Regions from separate parts of the Homo sapiens genome. Here region 1 is linked to region 2. The links are contacts of gene promoters, found by promoter capture Hi-C in human tissues and cell types (Jung and others, 2019). All regions are on one chromosome and are shown on one strand. The core of a region is centred on a gene start or on the middle of the fragment in contact, and the rest is flanking DNA. Distances in the headings are between cores, read along the strand shown.

The links. The method cuts DNA at HindIII sites, captures the fragments that hold promoters and counts their contacts. A contact is called where the count stands out against the background at its distance.
Region 1: a contact is called between a fragment that was not itself captured here and the fragment with the promoter of ZNF502 in region 2, in 1 of the 25 tissues and cell types used here (pancreas).

The regions. Positions count from the first base shown.
Region 1 is chr3:44,658,617-44,663,994 of GRCh38, forward strand. It overlaps ZNF35 (zinc finger protein 35), which reads left to right. Exons shown (of 4, transcript NM_003420.4): 4 at 85-2,175. The coding sequence ends at 1,331. It overlaps ZKSCAN7-AS1 (ZKSCAN7 ZNF cluster antisense RNA 1), which reads right to left. Exons shown (of 3, transcript NR_157564.1): 2 at 2,646-2,770. Among named protein-coding and RNA genes, the nearest start is that of ZNF35, 13 kb to the left of the region's middle. The HindIII fragment of the contact is 3,806 bases long and covers 1,064-4,869 here.
Region 2 is chr3:44,711,277-44,716,897 of GRCh38, forward strand. It overlaps ZNF502 (zinc finger protein 502), which reads left to right and starts at 1,384. Exons shown (of 3, transcript NM_001134442.3): 1 at 1,384-1,464. It overlaps LOC105377056 (a long non-coding RNA gene), which reads right to left. Exons shown (of 3, transcript XR_940788.4): 3 at 4,241-4,561. The HindIII fragment of the contact is 6,909 bases long and covers 1-4,300 here.

The sequences.
Region 1 (5,378 bases), core at 1,717-4,216, 51 kb before region 2:
ATACTTCGTTTTATGACTTGATGATCCTATTCTTTTTCTAGGCCAGAGAAAGCTAACATTTGTATTTTCTGTTTCTTGGTTCAGGTGCTGAAACCAAGAACCTACAGTTACTGGTTCCAAAAACTGAGATATGTGAGGAAGCTGAAAAACCCCTCATCATATCAGAAAGAATCCAGAAAGCTGATCCTCAAGGACCTGAGTTAGGAGAAGCTTGTGAAAAGGGAAACATGTTAAAGAGGCAGAGAATAAAGAGAGAAAAGAAAGATTTCAGACAAGTGATAGTGAATGACTGTCACTTACCTGAAAGCTTCAAAGAAGAGGAAAACCAGAAATGTAAGAAATCTGGAGGAAAATATAGCCTTAATTCTGGCGCTGTTAAAAATCCAAAAACCCAGCTTGGACAAAAGCCTTTTACGTGTAGCGTGTGTGGGAAAGGATTTAGTCAGAGTGCAAACCTCGTTGTGCATCAGCGAATCCACACTGGAGAGAAACCCTTTGAATGTCATGAGTGTGGGAAGGCCTTCATTCAGAGTGCAAACCTCGTTGTGCATCAGAGAATCCACACTGGACAGAAACCTTATGTTTGCTCAAAATGTGGGAAAGCCTTCACTCAGAGTTCAAATCTGACTGTACATCAAAAAATCCACTCCTTAGAAAAAACTTTTAAGTGCAATGAATGTGAGAAAGCCTTTAGTTACAGCTCACAACTTGCTCGGCACCAGAAAGTCCACATTACGGAAAAATGCTATGAATGTAATGAATGTGGGAAAACATTTACTAGGAGCTCAAACCTCATTGTCCACCAGAGGATCCACACTGGGGAGAAGCCCTTTGCCTGTAACGACTGTGGCAAAGCCTTTACCCAGAGTGCAAATCTTATTGTACATCAGCGAAGCCATACTGGTGAGAAGCCATATGAGTGTAAAGAGTGTGGGAAAGCCTTTAGTTGTTTTTCACACCTTATTGTGCACCAGAGAATTCACACTGCAGAGAAACCTTACGACTGCAGCGAATGTGGGAAAGCCTTCAGTCAGCTCTCTTGCCTTATTGTCCACCAGAGAATTCACAGTGGAGATCTTCCTTACGTGTGTAATGAATGTGGGAAGGCCTTCACATGTAGCTCATACCTACTTATTCATCAGAGAATTCATAATGGAGAAAAACCTTACACATGTAATGAGTGTGGGAAGGCCTTCAGACAGAGGTCGAGCCTCACCGTGCACCAGAGAACCCACACTGGGGAGAAGCCCTATGAATGTGAGAAGTGTGGTGCAGCTTTCATTTCCAACTCACACCTCATGCGACACCATAGAACCCATCTTGTTGAATAACAAGTAAGGAAGAGGAAGACCTCCAGCATTGGTCATAACCTTCTGCCTCCCTAATGAGACACCTCTTTGCTGTTTTCTTCCTCCTCTATAAAAGTGAGGGCTGTGTCCTTAAAAGTTATAGTTTTCAGGAATGCAGCAGAAGACACAAGAAAAGCATTTCAGAGGCTAATTTAAAACAAAAAGTAAGCACCTAAAGGCAAGGACTTTGTTTTAACTGTACCTTAAGCGGTCATGTTCTCTGAAGTGGAATGTGGCTTTCCTAGGAATGGGTCGTACAAAGCTAAGTGGTAATGATGCTATTTGGGGAAAGGTCTTTTTTGCTTAATTTTGTTTTTTAAAACTCTGATGATTGCTTGAGCAACAGGCAGGTTATCTGCCTGGTTGAATTCTGGTTGAACCGTGTATTCTAATATTTCTGGTTAAGTGGTGACTGGGTAAGGAAACCACTTGGGGTAGCAGTTCAACAATTCACTTACGAATGTTTATAAGCTTTCCATTTCCTAGGTAATTTTTTAAAAGCCAGTCAAAACAAAAACTTTACTGAAAATGGACAGAAATAGGAAATGGACTTTTTCCTTACTGTCTATACCTCCTGAACCTTGGTATTGTAAAGATCTGGGGACCTCTGGGTCTGTTCTGACCATTCCCTAGTCTCCATGGCCAAGCACTCAAGGATTGATGGACACCACACACCAGCTATATTCATTTGCCAAGATCAACAGCTCCTTCTCCAAACAACTCAAGCCCCCAATTCCCATCGCATTCCATTTGGGTGAGATGCAACTAACAGCCCCTTCCTGGATGAAGGAGTCAAAGAATAAAGCTTGCCTAGAGGCATGCCCCAGTTGTCTCTGCTGTCATTCTGCTCAAGTCCAGCCAGGGGTCTCAGTTTGGGTTTCATTCTCACATTCTGGATGGTGTTTAGAAGAAATAGTGGAGCTCTTCTCATTCTGAGAAGACCAAAGAGGGAAAGTGATGGGAGAGGGGAGGTGGAAATAAGATTCCTAAGGTCTTAATTTGATTTTTTGAGAAATTCAGAGGTATTGGAATATGAAAAACTTTTAGAAGGATGAAGAAACTGGCCAAGGTAAGATATCTTTGTTACCATTCAGCCTTTACTCCTGGAAAAATGATTTATAAAACTATGCAATAGGTAGAGTTATGTAATAATATTGCCTTGTATTTATATAGAACTTTTATTCTTTGTTGTGTACCCTTATGTATTGATCATGATACCTGGCACGTATCTCACGCTTTCACATAGATCACCTACCTCAGTCCTTACAACACTGAAACAGGTGGTTGCCCATTTACCTGAGAATGGTCATTTAGTGCAAGGCCAAGTAACAAGTGACAGCTTATATCCAAGTCCAGGTCCTGAATCTAGATTCTCTGTTCTGCCATGCCACTTGCCAAACACCTGTAATCCCCATGCAGACCTGTAGGGGAGACAAAGAAAGGGGTGTGTAGTCCCATTTTTCAGGTGAGGAAGCTGATGTGACAGATGTTTGGAGTGTGCCTTAGGCACTGTGACCAGAAATCAGCAAACCTAAGACTAGAATTTGGGTCTCCTGATTTCTGGCTCTGTCCCTCCATGCTGTTCCAATGCCTCAGGGCATGCAAGAGCATTTATCATAAATGCTGAGCCTGATGCAGCTCTCATGCAGAAGTCCCATGCATTTATTATCACATTTCTGCAAGACTAAATATTAATCACATAGTGTTTTCTAGTTTACAGAGCACTTCTTTTGTGTGTTAGTTTTGTTTTGTTTTTGAGATGGAGTCTTAGGCTGGAGTGCAGTGGCACAATCTTGGCTCACTGCAACCTCTGCCTCCCAGGTTCAAGTAATTCTCTTACCTCAGTCTCCCGAGTAGCTGGGACTACAGGTGCATGCCACCACGCCTGGCCAATTTTTTTTTTTTTTTTTTTTTGAGACAGAGCCTTGCTGTGTTGCCCAGGCTGGAGTGCAGTGGCACGATCTTGGCTCACTGCAACCTCCGCCTCCCGGGTTCAAGTGATTCTCCTGCCTCGACCTCCTGAGTAGCTGAAATTACAGGTGCACGCCACCACCCCCAGCTGATTTTTGTATTTTTAGTAGCAGTGGGGTTGGTCAGGCTGCTCTTGAACTCCTGACCTCGTGATCCACCTGCCTTGGCCTCCCAAAGTGCTGGGATTACAGGAGTAAGCCACTGCGCCCAGCCTTTTTTGTATTTTTAGTAGAGACGAGGTTGCACTATGTTGGCCAGGCTGGTCTCAAACTCCTGACCTCAGGTGATCCACCTGCCTCGGCTTCCCAGAGTGTCAGGAATACAGGCACGAGCCACCATGCCTGGCCTACAGTGCACTTTCACATACAGAAGGCATACACAAGAAAGCTTATTAATTTCCTTTTTCCTCCCTCCTCTAGTTTTTTTTCCAAAACATATGCAACTTACTTTCCCAGTTTCACTCTAAATCATAGAGACACAAATACAAGAAATCAAAAGGATTCAAAAGTAGGATCAAATACTCATGCCCTCACCAATCCTAACAGTGACTGTTCCAGTCTCCCTGATGGAATGGAGAGACCCAAATAAACCACCCCCTGTCTCTGCTGAGAGTAGGAACAAGTTAGTTTTTTCCCCCTGCCTTATCAGGAAGCTGAGAATATCAGGAGAGCAGGTCTGAAGATTTGAGAAAACTCTGTGACCTTGACCCACCAAGAGACAGAAACTACTTTGCTTAAAGAATACCTGCTGGGATTTATGACCATTAAGACAGTTAAACCATTCTACCATCACATATGTTTATCCTCATAATATTCAGTTATGGATGATTGTGATTTTCACTCATAGGTAGTTCAGAAAAGCTACGCAGGGGATTATGATGCAAAACTAGGTTTGAGATTCACTGACCCAACCTTGCAGTAAAGCAGTGGTTTTAAACCTTGGCTTCATGTTAGAATCACATTGGGCACTTTTTTAAAATTTCCATTTCTAGACCTCTGTATTTTTTAAAACTCTGGAGGGGATTACAATGACAAGCAAAGGTTATGAGCCACTGTAGCAAAAAGTAAAGGCTGCAGGCCAAGAATGTGTGTGATCAAAGGTGGAGGGGGTGGGGGTGCTCCAGTATAAGGATCTGTACGTGCAAAGCATTCTATGTATTTTTAGCAGAACAGGAGACTTACTTTACACTAGCTGAACTAGGTGTCCATCAGTGCCTCTGCCAACCATTGGATGTTAGAGGATTCTGCCACCTAGCTTATTTTATTTGTATTTAAGTGAATATACCAAACATTTATATGAGCAAACCAAGTTTTACATAACATGCTTTTGGTATGTATTATGACTTTTTACATTTCTACTTGGATTTCCTCTTCAGATCTCAGTTTCCACAAATCTGCATCCAGGTTCAGGGCCTCTGATTCTGCACAAATCATATGAGCCAAGTGGATTGATTACTAGACAGATCAGATCCTTCCCCAGCTAATAACTCTGCCTTCTGATTCCAGTCCTCAAAATAAATTGCAGCCTGCCATTTTCTTTATGTTTTATAAGGGAGGAGTGACCACCTTTTGTCAGTTTGCTTAGTTTCCTATTCTTTGGGCTCATCTCCCATCTTTTTTGGGTAGTCTTGCTAGGAGTGGTTGGGAACTCTGAAGCCCCATTTTCCCAAGTTGCTGAGAGCTATCAGACTTTTAGCTGTCAGGCTAAGAGCTCTGTTGCAGGCCTAGTGATTGGCATTAAGAGTAGGGCCAGGAAATCTGTCCTCATCCTCAAATGAGACCAACAGATATGTATTAAGTGGAGCACAGTGATGCAAAACTGATGGCGAAATCACGTACAGTACTCTGGGAGCACAGGAGAAAGACTTCAATCCCTAACACGAAGTTACACACTCAAACACAGCCATAAATTCCACCAGGCTTAGGAAGAGGTGTCTTTGGACAAAGCTAATTGTTCACCTGCTCTGTATCCCCTCCCTGTCTCAGGTAGTTGTCCCTCTCCCACGTCTGTCACCTCTCCACTTGCTCATCCATTGTAGGCACTGCAACCTTTCTGGGG
Region 2 (5,621 bases), core at 134-2,633:
CTGGAATGTACACTTTAGGTAATCTGGGGGAAGAAAGATAATTTTCCAGCAGTTTTAGCTCTCAAACAAGCAGTATACATCTATGTGGAGTAACTATTTCCTGTAACTTGTTGGAAGTTGATGGTGACCTAGTCATTCATCAAATACTGATTGAATGCCTAGTATGTCAGCCATGCTCTAGGTGCTAGGGATATAGTATGAATGAAACAGAGAAGGCCCCTGCCTTCATACAGCTTACATTCTACCAAGGGAGATAACAATTGGATAGAGTGAGCCAAAGAAACGGGAATATGCCAGCTACGTGGTACATCCTTTCAGATGTGCAGAGAGCTTGCTTTCTGGATTTAATCTATGGTATCCTCATTTTTCAGTTTATCAAAAATGCCAATAATCTAAATTTCACCTGTTTCTGATTAACGAATTCAACAAGTATTTATTGAATGCCTTCTCTACCAATCATTGTGCTAAACATTGAGATATAATGATAAATAATAGCTCCATATAGCTGATTAGAGTTGTATAAAAATGAACTGATTGGGTCTTTCACAGTTGTCCTTGGGTGGGATGCTACTTGTGTGTATCTTCCTAACAATACCTACGAAAGAAATACAAGTGTATGCATTTAGGGGGGCACTGAATAGAAGGCTAGCTAGAGCTAGAATAACTAATAGTGATATGTGAGTGTAAAGACCCATAAGGGCAACAGTCTAGGTGGTCAAGTGAGAATTGGCATTGGGATTTGAAGAACCAGGATAAATTGGATAGCTGAGGTTAGGGAGAGCAGGTAGAAGGAAGGGAGAGTATTCCAAAGGGAAAATCCTGGGAAAAAGATCTAGAGTCAGGAAGAGGCAAGGGATTTCAGGGGGCCAATGGGAATTCAGTAACTTTAGAGCAGAATGTATATGATAGCCAAATAAGAGATGTTGATATTGAGGTCAGTTTGTGTGGGCCTAGATTGGGAGTTTGTCCTTTATTCTAACATAACAGGGGATCACTCAAGGTTCTTAATAGAGACTATTTTAAGCAGGTAGAATATACTAGTTTCTTGTTGAGATGGCCCATTCCGGCTCCTACCCAGCATCCTTTCCATCCCTAACGTCTCCCTCTACAGTTTTCCTGAGGGTTGAGGTAGCCACTGTGTTTCAGGCCAAGATAGTTGTTAATGGGATATCAGGAACGCGACTGGGCTTGACGGGAAGCAAGGCTGGAGTTACAGGCTGGGCTTGGCGGGAAACAAAGCTGGAGTTACAGGCTGGGTTTGGAGGGAATGCCTTCTTCTAGGGTCCCATAGAGATGTTCCTCCCGCTTCCTAGAGAATCAGAGAATGGATGCGCGAGCTCGCTGCTGACGCACTACCGGCCGCGCCACCATTCTTCCGGTTTCAGAAGTTAAGGCTGGTGTCCTGGCCCCAGTCCACCTCTGGGAGCGCCTGCGCCGCTCCGCGGAGAGTCCGTGGATCTCACAGTGAGCGAGTTGGGACCCAGGGAGGGGAAAAGAGAGGACCCCGGCGAGCCATTGCTGGGGCGGCGGGCTGGAGGGTTATCTGGGAAGTCAGCCCCGGCCTCGGTCCTCTCCACGTTGCTGCCTACGCGTGCTGCCCGGACGTAGGGCACTCCTAGCGGCTCGGCCCGCCCAGCCTGCAGCCTCAGCACTGCAGACTCCAAGGCCCAGCACAGTGCCCGGCACAGAGGAGATGCCTAGGAAAATGGCGGAGTGAATGAATGAATGAGTGAATGAGTGATGGATAGATGATCAAGACAGACCTAGGACCCATGTCAGGAAACGAGGTCCTGGGGATCAGATACCAGTTTCTTCCCCCGGCTGATCCTGTAGCTCCGAAACTTGTTTAGAGCCTGTTTTTATAGGAGACGGCAAATAGCGTAAAGTGCACTCGTTGGGAGTCTTGAGACCTGAGTTACAATTCTGGAGGGTACAGAAATCTCTAAAGTACTGTCTAGAAGTCTGTTCCTTGCTTCTTCACAAAGCTCAGTTGACAGCTTGTATGTGATAGCATGTATGCAAACCTTAATGCCTCCCAATGAAGGATTACTATCCATTATATGCCAAACATTACCCCGAATTTAGTGGCTAGGCTACAAAAGAGTGACATCGGAGACTGCCACATGTAAAGATGCTTCCAGTCTTGTTTAGGACGATAAGGGCATAAGCAGATTTTGGTGGTAATATTTTAAACTACATTTATTTAGCACTTACTGTATACCAGGCACTATTTGAAGCATTTGTGCTAATTGATTTAATCTTCACAACAGCGTATTGCGTGTACAGTTTTGTTTTTTGGTTTTTGGTTTGTTTTTTTTTTTGAGACGGGATTTCACTCTTGTTGCCCAGGCTGGAGTGCAACGGGGTGATCTGGGCTCACCACAACCTCTGCCTCCCGGGTTCAAGCGATTCTCCTGCCTCAGCCTCCCGAGTAGCTGGGATTACAGGCATGCGCCACCACACCTGGCTAATTTTGTATTTTTAGTAGAAACGGGGTTTCACAGTGTTGGTCAGGCTGGTCGCGAACTCCCAACCTCAAGTGATCCACCCGCCTTGGCCTCCCAAAGTTCTGGGATTATAGGCGTGAAACACCGCGCCAGGCCTATGTGTAGTTTTTAAGTGAGGGAACTGAGGTACAGAGAGAACAGAAAACTTGTCCCAGATCACATTGCTAAGTGACCCAAGGCTGCATAAGAGATAAAGTGTACTGCCACAGCTTGGGTGAGTGCACTGTTTGGTGCCAAAATGCAGACCAAGAAGGGCTTCAGAGAGGAGTACATTTCAATGTGGTCTCGTTGGAGGGATTGTTAAAAATTCTTGAAAAACTTCATCTAGCTTGCTTAGATTCTTTTAGCTAATTATTGAGGGGTAAGGAGGTGGCATCTGGGGAAAAGCTTACAAGGTAGAGGGAGGAAGCCAGCTCTCTAATAGGTTAGCAGGATAGGGCTATTAAGAGCCTGTTTCCTTTTTACCTTTCACCATAATACTCAGCTTTCCCCAGATCTGCAGAGGGATCTTTTTAGCATCTTAAAATCACTAACAGCCAGATTATTCCACAATAGGCATTTGTAGAAGCACCTGTACATTACTTTCTGGGCAACTTATAGACCTAGGAGTCAGCAAATATGGACCAAATTTGGTCTGCCACTTTTTTTGGTAAAACTGTTTTATTAAAACACAGGCAAGCTCATTCAGTACATATTGTCTGTTTCTGTTTTCAGACTACAAAGGCAAAGTTGAATAGTTGAGACAGAGACTATATTTTCCATTTAACCCATTAAACCTAAAAAAAATTGCTTTCTGGCCTGTTACAGAAAATGTTTGCTGACCCTTGACATTGACAAACTGCTGACAGCTCAGATGATCCATGATTGGAAGGATGTGGTCATCACCAAGATGTCTTTCTTTCTCCGTAGGTTTTAGTATCAACCATAATAGCATCTAACCCCTGTTGAGTGCCTGCCATCGAGTAGATATCTTTTTGAATGCTTTATGTGAATTAACTCATCAAGGATTCACAGATTATCAGAGCTGGAATGACCCGTAAATATTGTCTAATTTGTCACCCTTTTCAGATAAATAGCCTGTCATGTAGGCCCACTCACATGGGCTATTGGCAGAGCAAACTTTCCTGAGTCCCAATCCAGTCTACTATCATCTTGTGAATGGGAGGCCAATACCATAGCCATTGGATCTGGCATTTTGTTTTTGTTTTTGTTTCTGGGTTTTTAAAAAGTAACTTTTTCTACCTATAAAAGTAATATATGTTTATTGAAGGAGAAGTAAAAATATAGAAGAGTATAAAGGACAAACTAAAGTGACCCATTAACTGACCTAGAGATAAATGTGTTAATATTTTGGTGGGTTTTCTTTATGTCTTTTTTAAATGTGTGTGTTTTATCTGTTTATTAACAATAGTTTCTGTTTATTGAGTGCTTAATGCCAGTATATGTGTGCATATTTCTTGTTTTTTAGTGTTTTGTATCTTCCTGTTTTAACATATTATATTTTCTCATGAATATTCTTTGAAATTATGATTTTTGATACCTTCATAAGCTATCTTTGCTAGTCTATCAATGTTTATTTGCCTGTTTATTTAACAATTGTAGTAATAGTGTGATCTTTGTACATAAATCTCTGGCCATCTCTGATTATGCTTTTTCACTTTTTCTTTGATTACAGAAGTTAGTTATTCCTATGGGAAAATTTTCAAACATTACAAAAAGATAGGCCTTAAGGCAAAAGTTTACCATAATTTTATTCTTCAGATATGATCACAATAAATAATTTGTTATATATTCTTATAGATTTGTTTTTTTTTTAAAGTGGAGCAAAATATAGATAATAGAGGACATTTGAGGAAATTATTCACAATTCATTATTTTACCACAGTGATGATTATTTTTCCTTCTTGATCTTATTCAGATGTATTTTTAATTTTTAATTTTTGAGAGGGATCTCACTCTGTCACCCAGGTTGGAATGCAATGGTGCTATCACAGCTCACTGCGACCTCTACCTCCCATGTTCAAGTGATCCTTCCACCTCAGCCTCCTGAGTAGCTGAAACCACAAGCACGACACATGTATATTTTAACAAACATATATTTTACATTATATTACTACTTGAAATTTTACTATACTGGATTTTTTCAACATATGGCATAAATATTTTTCCCAATAAACACATATTTTCATTTTTAATGATCTTAATGCCTAAATAATTTTCACCAACTAGAAGTACCATAATTTGCTAATCCTCAGTGTCCACCAGTAGAAAAACTTTTATTTCCATGTACATTTCAGGGGATATTTTTACAAGTAACAGAAGAATTCTGTTTCTCTTCTCTCTGGAAATTTACTTCTTTCTGAGAAAATTCTATTTGTAGAATTACTAGGTCAAAGAATATAGTCTTTTTTTTTTTTTTTTGAGACGGAGTTTCGCTCTTGTCGCCCAAGCTGGAGTGCAGTGGCGTGATCTCGGCTCACTGTAGCCTCTGCCCCCTGGGTTCAAGCAATTCTCCTGCCTCAGCCTCCTGAGTAGCTGAGATTACAGGTGCCTGCCACTGCGCCCGGCTAATTTTTTGTATTTTTTAGTAGAGACGTGGTTTCACCATGTTGGGCAGGCTGGTCTCGAACTCCTGACCTCAGGTGATCCACCTGCCTTGGCCTCCCAGACTGCTGGGATTACAGGTGTGAGCCACTGCGCCCAGCCGAATATAGTCATTTTTTATGGCATACTGATGACTCTGAGGTACACTACAGGTGGTGTATATACAAAATGAGCATTCTGTTCTGAATTCCTGTATCCACAAAATGTTGATCACAGCATCCTAACTATAACTGAAGCTACAACTTTCACACCTGATGTATATTGCCAGATTAGCTCCAGAAAGATGGTACCAACTTACATTCGCACCGGTATGTGAGAAACTCCCTGTACCTTTGTGAATCTTGAGTGTAGCATTAAAGATAGATTTTCCAGTTTGATGTAAAAATTGATTCTTCATTCTTTCAGTTTCCATTTCCTTGTTTACCATAAAGATGGAACATTGTTTTGATATGTTTACTGGCCTGTTGTAATTCTTGGTGTATTTTTTGTATTTTCCATTTTTCTCTCAGT